Linked DNA regions of Homo sapiens: all the other regions are linked to region 3. The links are contacts of gene promoters, found by promoter capture Hi-C in blood cells and fetal thymus (Javierre and others, 2016). All regions are on one chromosome and are shown on one strand. Each heading gives the region's core, a stretch centred on a gene start or on the middle of the fragment in contact. The rest is flanking DNA. Distances are from core to core; before and after follow the strand shown. Region 1 overlaps UBE2U (ubiquitin conjugating enzyme E2 U). Region 2 has its middle 110 kb from the start of PDE4B. Region 3 holds the start of JAK1 (Janus kinase 1).

Evidence for each region. Contacts are between HindIII fragments. The CHiCAGO score rates a contact against its expected background, and 5 or more counts as called.
Region 1: a contact is called between a fragment that was not itself captured here and the fragment with the promoter of JAK1 in region 3, in 1 of 17 cell types (M2 macrophages). The highest score is 5.1, in M2 macrophages.
Region 2: a fragment that was not itself captured here is called in contact with the fragment with the promoter of JAK1 in region 3 in 1 of 17 cell types (erythroblasts); the score reaches 6.7 in erythroblasts.

What each region holds. Positions count from the first base shown.
Region 1 is chr1:64,267,180-64,271,174 of GRCh38, reverse strand. It overlaps UBE2U (ubiquitin conjugating enzyme E2 U), which reads right to left. Exons shown (of 10, transcript NM_001366232.2): 10 at 3,807-3,995. The coding sequence ends at 3,967. Among named protein-coding and RNA genes, the nearest start is that of UBE2U, 66 kb to the right of the region's middle. The HindIII fragment of the contact is 3,207 bases long and covers 418-3,624 here.
Region 2 is chr1:65,685,589-65,689,486 of GRCh38, reverse strand. No RefSeq gene overlaps it. Among named protein-coding and RNA genes, the nearest start is that of PDE4B, 110 kb to the left of the region's middle. The HindIII fragment of the contact is 3,103 bases long and covers 1-2,860 here.
Region 3 is chr1:64,965,117-64,968,909 of GRCh38, reverse strand. JAK1 (Janus kinase 1) reads left to right here and starts at 2,361. Exons shown (of 25, transcript NM_002227.4): 1 at 2,361-2,577. RefSeq lists a silencer at 2,137-3,016. The HindIII fragment of the contact is 15,152 bases long and covers 474-3,793 here.

The DNA of each region.
Region 1 (3,995 bases), core at 772-3,271, 700 kb after region 3:
AACAAACAGATGAAGTCTGGAACTGTATCAGCCATTTTTTTTTTTTTTTTTTTTTGTAAGACAGTCTTACTCTGTTGCCCAGGCTAGAGTGCAGTGGTGTATGATCATAACTTACTGCAACCTAGAGCTCTTGGGCTCAAGCTATCCTCCTGCCTCACCTTCCTGAGGTGCACACCACCATGCCCGGCTAACTGTAAAAAATTTTTTTAGTAGAAACAGGATCTCACTATGTTGCCTAGGTTGGTCTCAAACTCCTGGGCTCAAGCAATCCTTCTGCCTCGGTCTTCCAAGGTGCTGGGATTACAGGTGTGAGCCACTATGCCCAGCCTTCTAGCAGCCATCTTGTAATCAAGAAGCAAAAGGCATGGAGACAAAAGCCAACATCCTAAAAATGGTAGCGAGGAAAGAGAAAAAGCTTGGTCTTTGATGGCTTCATTGCCCAACTAGCTGAACCAATGCCAGCAACTGCCCACCTAAGGGCTCCTTATTTTGTGGAAAAAAAAAAGAGTCTCTACCTCTTTAATCCTCTAGTAGGTCTTTTGTTATTTGCCATGGAACGTAGGAAAAAGTTGACTCATATGACACAATATGAGAACTCAGAGTTATTTAAACAATTTTGAACACTAAAGTAATATCATCTTATTAGTAGCCCTCACTGGTGACATTGAGGTTTATTTTAGACATATTCTAAGTTAATTATTGTACATACACTTACTTAATGAGAACAATATCTTAGTTATGAAGTTTTACTTAAAAATGGATGGCAACTTGTGAACACATCTAGTATATACAATTTTCTCCTCTATAGAAAACATTTTTTTTATATCGGTGAAGGATTGTTAACATGAGCTAGTTATTGAGACATGCAAAAAGCCTCAGGAGATCAGGATGGATGTTGTAATTGTATTTGTTGAAACAGAATTCAACTTGTAAATATAATTACCCTTGGCTGTTCAAGTGATCACTTTTCATTTAGATTCCAGTCTGGTCCTTAGAACTTGAAAGTGAGATGAAGAGTCGGGGAGAGGGTTTGAACATTGAGAGGCCATAACAAAGAATGAAAAGGTCTGGGGTTGGTTAGTACAGATCGCAGAAGGGTATAGAACATTTAAAATTAGCCTTCAGATCTATTAAGGGATATTGCTCAGAAAATGAGAGCCAGCTGCACTCCATCTTTTATGATGAAAACCCCAAATCAAGTGGGCTTATACTTTTGCATCTAGGAATCAGATTAACCAAAAAGAACTCTCTTCTGGGAGGTGGTTAAATACTGGAGTTGAATATTTAGATAAGGTTTGAGATCTCACCCTCTGGAGAGAGTGGCTTAAATTTAACTCTGGGTCTCTGTATATTCTTAGTTAACTGCCAAATAACAGAGAGGCACAGGATCCCCCTTCATCTCCCAGCCAACACCATTGCTACCATCTCCTCGTTAGGGGCACCCATGGCCTGTAAGGGAGCAGCAGGGAGGCAAAGGAGGTCTAGGTGGCAGGCAGGCCCCAGAGAGCCTTCTAACTGTCAACCCCTAGGGAAGTCCCTCCCTCCCTCAGGTAGGAGAGGCAGCAGTTCTCAGTGGATGCACTGATGTCTGGAAGTCATTAAACAAAACTCAGGCTCATTCTCATCTACAAGAGGGTGGTTTCTGTGTGGTCCTGCCTGAAGCCAGTGGTGAGGACTGACTGATTTCTCCAGGTTGGCTCTATGATTTTATCAACGTGAGTAATTTGTAAGCTCTGGGCTATTTTTCTTTTAGTAAATCTTTCCTAGTACTGAGTAAACATCTTCCTTGGGAGGGAAAACAAAGTATTCCGCTCTTATAAAGTGGTCATGTGCCATACGAGCCTTTAAAAGCATAAGGAGGCTTGGTGCCTGGCTTCCAGTGAAGTGTCTCTTAAGACTGAAGTGCATGAAATAGCTAACTGGCGCCATCTGGAGGGGAAGTGGAGTCTAAACAACAACGCAAGTTTAAAAAACATTGACAATGACGTAAATGCAAAATTTTATAATATTTATTTTATTTACTTTTATTTTTATTTTATACTTTTAAGACGGAGTCCTGCTTTGTCGCCCAGTTTGGAGTGCAGTGGCGCGGTCTCTGCCCACTGCAACCTCCGCTTCCCGGGTTCAAGCGAATCTCGTGCCCCAGGCCTCCCTAGCAGCTGGGACTACAAGAATGCGCCACCACTCCCGGCTAATTCAGAACATTTTAAAAAATGAAATTCCCTGCTTCTCTCTTCTCCTCTCTTTTCAGAATCCATCCAGACTGATCACAAGGGGGCTGGGGCCTCGCGTTCCTATAGAACCTTAACTTCAGATCTGACGTCATATCCAGTGGAGGGTATGCGTCAGTTGTGGAGTTTTACTATACATGACACACTCCGTTATCAAATGGCACGATTTGGCATGCCATGTTAATCATATTTGAAATTAATCTCAGAATTACATTGTCTCAAAGTGTCATCCACTAATCATCTTCATCAGAATCAGCTGGTTTTTTTGTTTTTTTTTTTTTTGACGGAGTCTCCCTCTGTCGCCCAGGCTGGAGTGCAGTGGCGCGATCTCGGCTCACTGCAAGCTCCGCTTCCCGGGTTCACGCTATTCTGCTTCAGCCTCCCAAGTAGCTGGGACTACAGGCACCCGCCACCATGCCCGGCTAATTTTTTGTATCTTTAGTAGAGACGGGGTTTCACCGTGTTAGCCAGGATGGTCTCGATCTCCTGACCTCATGATCCGCCCGCCTCGGCCTCCCAAAGTTTTGGGATTACAGGCGTGAGCCACCACGCCTGGCCAGCTGGGGTAATTTTTAAAACTGCAGGTTTATAGACTTCAGTTCAGGCCCCCTGAATCTGAATTTCTTTCATAGTGCATGGGATCAATTAACTAAATAGAAGTAAATTTTGTTTTTTATTTGATCAAACACAAATATAGTGCTTACTATAGGCCAGGTGCTATTATTAGAACTTCATAAATATTAATGTATTGATGCATTTATTTGGTTTTTCTCAACAACCATAGAAACCTAGGTGTGTTTGTTCTGTTTTGTTTTGTTTTTTTTTTTTTTTGAGACAAGGTCTTGCTCTGTTGCCCAGAGTGGAGTGCAGTGACATGATCACAGATCACTGCAGCCTCGATCTCCCAGGCTCAAGCAATCCTCCCACCACAGCCTCCTGAGTAGCTAGGACTATGGGCATGTGCCACCAGAAAGCTCTACTACACATATCTGGTCTCTTGACACTTTCCTGGCTAGCTAAATATTTAGCTAAATATTGAACCCGGAAGGCAGATCAATAAATCTGACTGAGAAAAATGAGTGAATACTGGTGAGGCAAGCAGAGTTGGGGGTCAAAGGCAGAGACATATTTTAGAATAGGAGAGACCAAAGCACATGTGTAGGTTGAGACAATATGGCAAAAAGAGACAGAGAAAATAAAGTTATAAGAATACGAGGAGATAGGTCAAGGTTTAAGAGAAAATGGCACGTACTCTGGGATAAAACAGAAGAGAAACATTAGTAAATAGCGACATCTCATTCCTTGAATATGGAGGAAACAAGACAAGAAACTAGGCAGATGTAGGTCCATGTATAGATCCCGCTACTTGGGGTCATGTCCAGCCTCTGAAGCTTTTAATTGCTCCCCTCCTATCCCAACCTCTTTCTGACCCATTCTCTGCCTGCAAAAACTTGTGTCCAGTAGCCTAACAACTGTGGGAGTGTGACACCATTGATTGGCATATGGCAATGAACACCCCTAACTTTGGTAACTTTGTTCTAAAGGAGTAGCACTCAAAAAAGTCAAAGCAACATCTTTACTGATTTGTACTTATATTTCTAATTTGTACTTGCAGTGAGTGGGTGAGAACAACTTAAAAAAAATGAAATCCAAGTTCTGAGAGTCTTCCAAAATTGCTCCACAACGCTGGGCTATGGCGGAGGCTGTTTATTTTTTGAATCTGATAATGTTCTGCTTAATCTTCTGAAGTATTTGTATTGAGAG
Region 2 (3,898 bases), core at 60-2,559, 720 kb before region 3:
CTAAGTAGCTGGGATTATAGGTGTGTGCCACCATGCCTGGCTAATTTTTGTATTTTTACTACAGAAGAGGTTTCACCATTATAGCCAGGCTGGTCTCGAACTCCTGGCCTCAAGTGATCTGCCCACCTCAGCGTCCCAAAGCGCTAGGATTACAGGAGTGAGCCACCACTCCTGGCTGGTTAATAAGTTTTAAATGTCAGTGTGCACAAATCTTTCCAGTGGCAAGAAAAAAAAAAGCAACAACAACAAAACCACACCTCTGTGTTCCTCCTCCTTTTCTCCTTTGACTTAATACTGAACAAACAATGTCGGTTTCTAGCCACTTGCTTGTCAAAATTTTGTGTGGTGGTAGAAAGAGAGATTGGAATGAGGACAAGACAATTACCATGATAGGGGAGGACTAGGACAGAAGTAGTGGCCAGAGATGAAGGGTGATGCAGGATTAAGGATGAATAAGAACAACAGCCAGTGCCAGATCTCTGGACTCCAGCACCAGCCATATGTCATCCCAGCCAAGTGAGTGACGACATCAGAGAAGCCAAATAGCCCTGTCCTCTATCTTCAAACTGCTGGGGTGAGCGAGCTGCAAGAATAAAACAGAGCTGACCTTTCTTTTCTGTTTCCCATCTCCTGCCTTGGAGATTCTGGTCCATTCTACTTACAACCAAAAGTCCCAGATGTATACAGCCAGAGTCTCTGATTAAGAGACACTCTTTCTTTTTTTAATTTAAAAGATACTAAGTAATAAATATTCACCATTTAAAAAAAAACTATAAAATGCAGATAAGGAAAAGCACTAATCACCTTCAGATAACTACTGTTGGTATTTAGCCTTTCATCACAAATTTTATATTCTTTACATTCTTTGTATATGTGTGACTATGTGCACACATACATTATTTCTAATGTTTTTTCCAAGATTTATGGTGGAAAAATAATGATAGACTTCTAAAGTCATTAACAGATAGTTTCCTATCCTACTGCACAATTTGGTGTCTGGATGCTCTGCTGACCTTAGCAACACTTGTTTAAAGTCCCAGCATAGTAAGGTCAGCCGCCGCCTGCCTGCTGTGTCTGCAGACTTTATAATTCTGTACCTACTCCCATATTAGGGGGCTCTCTCTTGCTTAAGTCCATACGCAGAATTTCGTTAGCCAGAGGAGTCCTGAATTGCAAGTGAGAAGACCCAAATCTTGGTACTATTTTAGCTTCTAAATGTGCTCCAACTTCAGGGACTTCAGGAGCCAAGCATCTCCTGAGGGGCCTCTGGTGAAGGGAGGGGGAGAGGGAAGAGCTCTCATTTGGAAAATGCCTACTATTTCCCCGTCAGGGACTGCTGGGCCCTCCCTATCAGCCATCCATCTACTTTATTACCGAAGCAAGGGGAGGCCTCTGCCCACATCCTGTTTGAAGGCTGGAACTTCAGACCTTAGGGCACAGGTCTTTTACTCAAAACTTTTCAGATAATGAAAGAATTGAGATAAGCCAAGAATGTCAACACAAGCTCCTAGAAAACAATTGCAGATGTCACCGTAGTCACTCTGCAGGGCTGCACTGGCAAAGATCCCAGAGCACTGACCCTGTGCCCAAAGTTTCCTTCTGCCTTCTCTGAGATGACCAGCAGGTGGCAGCAGAGCACAAGGCAAAGCAGAAGGACGGTTGTCGGGAGCTCTGGAAAGACAAGAGATTGCAAACACTATACTTTTAAAAATTTGATTGATATGTTTTCTTCACTTCACAAGTAACTTAATGGGTTCAACTCCGATTGGCCACCCCATGGTTGTTTCCTGACCCCTTGGAGATTTAGAGCCTAGAAGTCTGTCCTCACCCACTGTCCATGCGAGTTTGTACAGCATGAAAAGTTCTCATCTCCAAGTTAAGAAGTAATCTTTCTATGAGAAGCACACTGTTTGACAAGCTGGTTTTGATATTTACATGCCTTCAGGCCTAGACTCCTAGTCTGCCTCTTTTACGTACTACTTCTGAGTTATTTGAAAAGTTACTAAGTCCCCTATTTTCTCAGTGGAGATTTTAAGCATCATCAGGATTTAAATGAGGATGTGTGTTTAAAAGACCAGCATGACACTTGCCACATGGAAATTCCTCAGCACATTTCAGTTATCTCACCCCTACGAAGAGAAGTGAGGCAAATAAAGAGAATCTATTATGGGGAATGCTGTCATTTCAAATAGTTATAAAGAGGTAGAGAAAATGATTCTCAAACCAGAATTTTCCTCGTTAATTCATTTTTAACTATCTTGTGAAATACAAGCAATGTCAACGCTTCGTTTTCCTAAACATTTCACTCAAATCGACTTCGTTCAATTACATGCAATAGAAATTTACCAAAGGTCTATTATGTACCAGGCATTATCACAGACACTGTAGGTCCAAATATAAGTAAGACACTGGTTGGTGCAGCTCTCTGGAAATGGACAGTACAGGTATAGCAGGAAAGCAACAGAAGTAGTAAAATCAATATAGCATGCCCAGAGAGCCCCACTCTCAAGACCCAGGCACTGGGTCTAAATGACTAAGACTGAGGCTGATTCAAGACAACAGAGAATGTCCACCATGAACTCAGAATCCAGTCACAAACAAGAGCAGCCTACCACTAAAAGAGAAGCAAATAAGTGGAGAGTCACTGTGTGTGGCTCAGCCCTGCAGGGATGGCTGAAAGTTCAGGGAGGAGCCAAAACACAGAAAACCCTAGCAAGGTAAGAGCATCAAGGTTAGATTCCATCTAACCCTCCTGACTTTCATTTTCGACACTTCATTCTTCCACTCTGAGAAACCTAGCTTTGATCATTTACAATGTGTTTATTTATTTATTTATTCATTCATTTATTTTGTTCAAGCTTAACATCCAAATTAATTAGTTTCAAAACTTCTAACCCATACTCCCATGAGAAACAAATGTATCAAGTAAATACTACCCAGCCATAAAAAAGAATGAAACTGTCATCTGCAATAACATGGATGGAAAGGGAAGTCATTATGTTAAGTGAAATAAGCCAGGCACAGAAAGATGTTCTCACATGTCCTCACTTATTTGGAGGAGCTAATAATTAAAGCAATTGAACTCATGGAGATAGAGAGTAGAATAATGATTACCAGAGGCTGGGAAGGCAGTGGGGGAGGGGAAGTGGGGATAGTTAATGGGTACAAAAAAATGCTTAGAAAGAGTGAATAAGAGGAGGTTCCAAGATGGCCAAATAGCAACAGCTCCAGTCTGCAGCTCCCAGCGTGAGCAATGCAGAAGACAGGTGATTTCTGCATTTCCAACTGAGGTACCAGGTTCATCTCACTGGGGCTTGTCAGACAGTGGGTGCAGCCCATGAGCAGGGCAGGGCATCACCTCACCTGGGAAGCACAAGGGGTCAGGGAATTCCCTTTCCTAGCAAAGGGAAGCCGTGACAAACAGTACCTGGAAAATTGGGACACTCCCACCCTAATACTGCACTTTTCCAACGGCCTTAGCAAATGGCACACCAGGAGATTATATCCCGTGCATGGTTCAGAGGGTCCCACACCCACGGAGCCTCACTCATTGCTAGCACAGCAGTCTGAGATCAAACTGCAAGGTGGCAGTGAGCCTGGGGGATGGGCATCCACCATTGCTGAGGCCTGAGTATGTAAACAAAGCGGCTGGGAAACTCAAACTGGGTGGAGCCCACCGCTGCTCAAGGAGGCCTGCCTGCCTCTGTAGACTCCACCTCTGAGGGAAGGGCATAGCTGAACAAAAGGCAGCAGAAACTTCTGCAGACTTAAACGTCCCTGTCTGACAGCTTTGAAGAGAGCAGTGCTTCTCCCAGCACAGAGTTTGAGATCTGAGAACAGACAGACTGCCTCCTCAAGTGGGTCCCTGACCCCCAAGTAGCCTAACTGGGAGACACCT
Region 3 (3,793 bases), core at 1,112-3,611:
CCCAGGCTGGAGTGCAGTGGCACAATCTCAGCTCACTGCAAACTCTGCCTCCCGGCTTCAAGCGATTCTTGTGCCTCAGTCTCCCAAGTAGCTGAGATTACAGGTTCCCGCCACCACGTCCAGCTAATTTTTGTATTTTTAGTAGAGATGGGGTTTCGCCATGTTGGCCAGGCTGGTCTCAAACTCCTGACCTCAAGTGATTGGCCCACCTCGGCCTCCCAAAGTGCTGGGATTACAGGCGTGAGCCACTGCACCTGGCCTTTGTTTGTTTGTTTGTTTTTATTTTAGAGACAGGGTCTTGCTGTGTTGCCCAAGTTGGTGTCAAACTCCTGGCCTCAAGCAGTCCTCCTGCCTCAGCCTCCCAAAGTGCTGAGATTACAGGCATGAGCCGCCACACCCAGCCAGCATATACTATTACTGCCTGAATATGCCGCTACCTCCTGACTCCTGCCTCCTGTCGGCTACTTGAAGCTTATTCTGACTTCCTCAGACTCGGCTGGGTGACTGTCTTCTGTGATCACCATTACAGGACCGGGAATCACTGAATTGTTACTTGCCTGTCTCTCTGACTGCATTGAGCATTCAGAGGTCAGGAACCTAGTCTATTTTTTTTTTCTCTGAATCTTCATCACCTAGCACAATGTCTGTTATAGACGAACAGATCTAAACTGAATCCAGGCCCTCTCCCCCTGATTCCACCCTGTGAACAGCCAGATTCGTTCGTGGGCACAATGGGTTCACTGCTGCCTTCCTGACTTTCCTTTTTCTTTACATCCTCACCTGAAATGCTGTTCTTTCACGTCTCTGTCTCCCTTCATGTCAGTCTCACCTGTTCTTTATGGTCCAGCTCAATAAAAACCCCTACCACTTCCTGAGCCCATGCCATGTGGGCTATATTATCATAGTTCACCTTCAGCAAAACCCCTTTAAGGAAGGCATTATCCCTATTTAACAGGTGAAGAAAATGATGCAAACAGCCCTGAGGTGTTGTTCAGAGTGTGGCAGATGAGACAAGACTTGCACACAAACACCCACAATGCAGGCAACCCGGGTTGCCTCCCTGTCTGCTCTGATCTCCGGTCTTCTTTGGTCCTCTTTTCTGTACTTCTGGAAGGCACTTTGGAGATCCTTTTGTCTGCTGCTCCACTGAGAATTGAGTCAACTAAGAATTGTTTAGGGCAACACAGGTGGTTACTGGTGGAGGCCAAACCTCAAATTCAGTAGTCTAATTCGGATGCTTGACTTTATTCCACACCCAGAATATCTTGCTCAGTTTCAGTTGCAGTAACTCAAGTGATCAGGAACTGTCCAGCAGGGTTAGTGAAGTCAGCACAGGTGGGGCAGCCTCTGTCCACAGCCCTGAAGCTGCAGAATTCTGACCGTGCACGGCCTCGGAGGATTTTCATCCAGGGATTGTCAGGGGGAAGTCGCTGGAGTGTTTTAAGCATGGGAGTGTGTGGAACAGATTTGAATTTTTAAAAGTTCATTGTAGAGAATTAATTGGGGGCTGGAGTGAATGGAGTGACGATTTAAGAGATGTTCGTGGTCCCTTCAGGTGAGAGATGGTGGCAGCTCGGACCGTGTTGCCGGAACATAGACAAGTGAACTGATTGGAGAGATACCTAAGGAAATAAAATTGTTAGGATTTGTCCGTGGACTGCCTACGAAGTATGAATCTTGGCTACAGTGTGACCTTGATTAAGACACTAAAGACTTAATTTGTTCCTCATGGATAAGATGATGCTACTACTTTGAGAGGTTATTAGTAAAAAATGAAAAGCGCTGTACATGCATTAGGTATCAGTGAATGTAGTTCTAATTCCTATTATGCATATGCTTTTTTTTTTTTCGTAAAGAGCTTTTAAAATACGGAATGGGTTGGATCTGCAGTAGCTTGTCCAAGCTGGGGGCTGTATTGTTAAATTCTTTTTAGTCTAGTGCTCCACTAGCTCCTCTCCTACTGAGCTGGGGTAAGAAGCGGAGCGTATACGGAGGAGGCGGGATGCATTTCTGCATCGAGCGCACAAAGGTGTGGCGGAGGGGGCTCCAGAGCTGGGAGGGGTCAATCTACGGGCGAATCCTGGCAATTTTACTCCCCGCGATAGATGACCTCGCGTCCTAGATGAGTTTCTAGATTCTAGAATCTAGAGGACGCGGTGAACAGAGACGAGTGGGGGCAGCTTCGCGAGCGAAGCCGGATGGGGGCGGGGCGGGTAGGCCGGAGGCGCAGAGTCTCCGCCGGGACCGCGACCCCGCCCCGCTTTCCGGGGCTGCCGCTGGTGACGTCGCGAGGGGGTGGGCCCGGCGGCCACGGGGGTGGGGCCGGCCGCGGGGCGGGGCGGGGCGGGACGGGAGGCGGTGCGTCGCTGAGCGCAGGCCGCGGCGGCCGCGGAGTATCCTGGAGCTGCAGACAGTGCGGGCCTGCGCCCAGTCCCGGCTGTCCTCGCCGCGACCCCTCCTCAGCCCTGGGCGCGCGCACGCTGGGGCCCCGCGGGGCTGGCCGCCTAGCGAGCCTGCCGGTCGACCCCAGCCAGCGCAGCGACGGGGCGCTGCCTGGCCCAGGCGCACACGGAAGTGGTGAGTGTCACCGGGGGAGGTGGAGGAGCCGGGGCGGCCGCGGTCGGCAGGCGAGGGGCGCGCAGCCCGGACTGGCCGGAGGCGCGGCCACCGCTCTTGGTCGGTCCTTAGGCTGCGCGGCCCGGGCTGCTCCTGAGCGCAGCTCAGGACCCCGCGGCTCGGGCGGGGAAGGCGGGGATTTCCAGCCCCGCGGAGCCGGCGGGCGGCGAGGAGGTCGCCGGGCGGGGGCCCCCGGCCGGGAGAAGAGCGGTTAAGCCAGGCCGCCCCCTCCCCCAGCGCGCACGGCAAGTTTTCATAAACAAGCCCGGAGCGCGCTGTCTGACATCCTGTTTATACCACCCCGAGATACAGGCGCGGGCTGGAGGGCTGACGTCCCTAGCTCCTTGTACCGCGAACTTGACCGCCAGCTCCCGGCCGGGGTGGCAGCGCAGAAAGGTTTTCTTCTTCGGCCCCAGGAAGGAGGCTGAGGGTCTTAGCTTTTTTCCTTCCTTGCGGTCTCAGCGAGGGAAAGTTTCTGGGATTTGGAGCTGGGTGTTGGGCGTCCGCGAACTCGGGAAACGCCCCCTCCCCTCTTAGGTTCTGTTAGGAACCAGGCCTCAGGTAGCCAGCGAGAAGTGGGAAAGGAGACCCTGGGCGAGAGGACCAGGGAAGGGGAACAGTGGGAGAGAACTACCCGGGGAATTGCGAATCCCACTGGAAAGGGACTGATTAACCGAAACTGGGGCTGGTCTCTGGCTCCCTCACTCCAACTCCATCCGCGCATCGTCGGCGACCGGGAGCATCGGAGGACTAATAGACACTCCTCCAAAGTCACTCCCCAGGGTCCCTGGGATGTGGGCTCCTTGGATGTGTGTTTACCACGGAACTTCTAGATAAAAGATGCGATGTTTGCCAGGTGTTTGTGCACACGTTTTTTGGAGGGTTTGCACTCCATGATTTCCTGTGTGTTCCTGGGGAAGGGGACCCCGTCCTTCCTGCCACTCTTCTTACTACGTGGCTGTGAGCTGCCTTCTGCCCCTGGTTGAGTACATCGCTATACATGTCATTGACACTTTTCCCCCCAAGTCATAGGGTTTTTCTCTCACTGGCAGGAATTTACAGTGGTATAAAATTGTCATTACTTCTTTCAGGGAGTAAAACATGGGTAGTTAAGTGATGAGAATAATGCAGAGAGAGATGTAAATCAGGGCGTGTTTGGTTTTGGCTATTTTTTTAT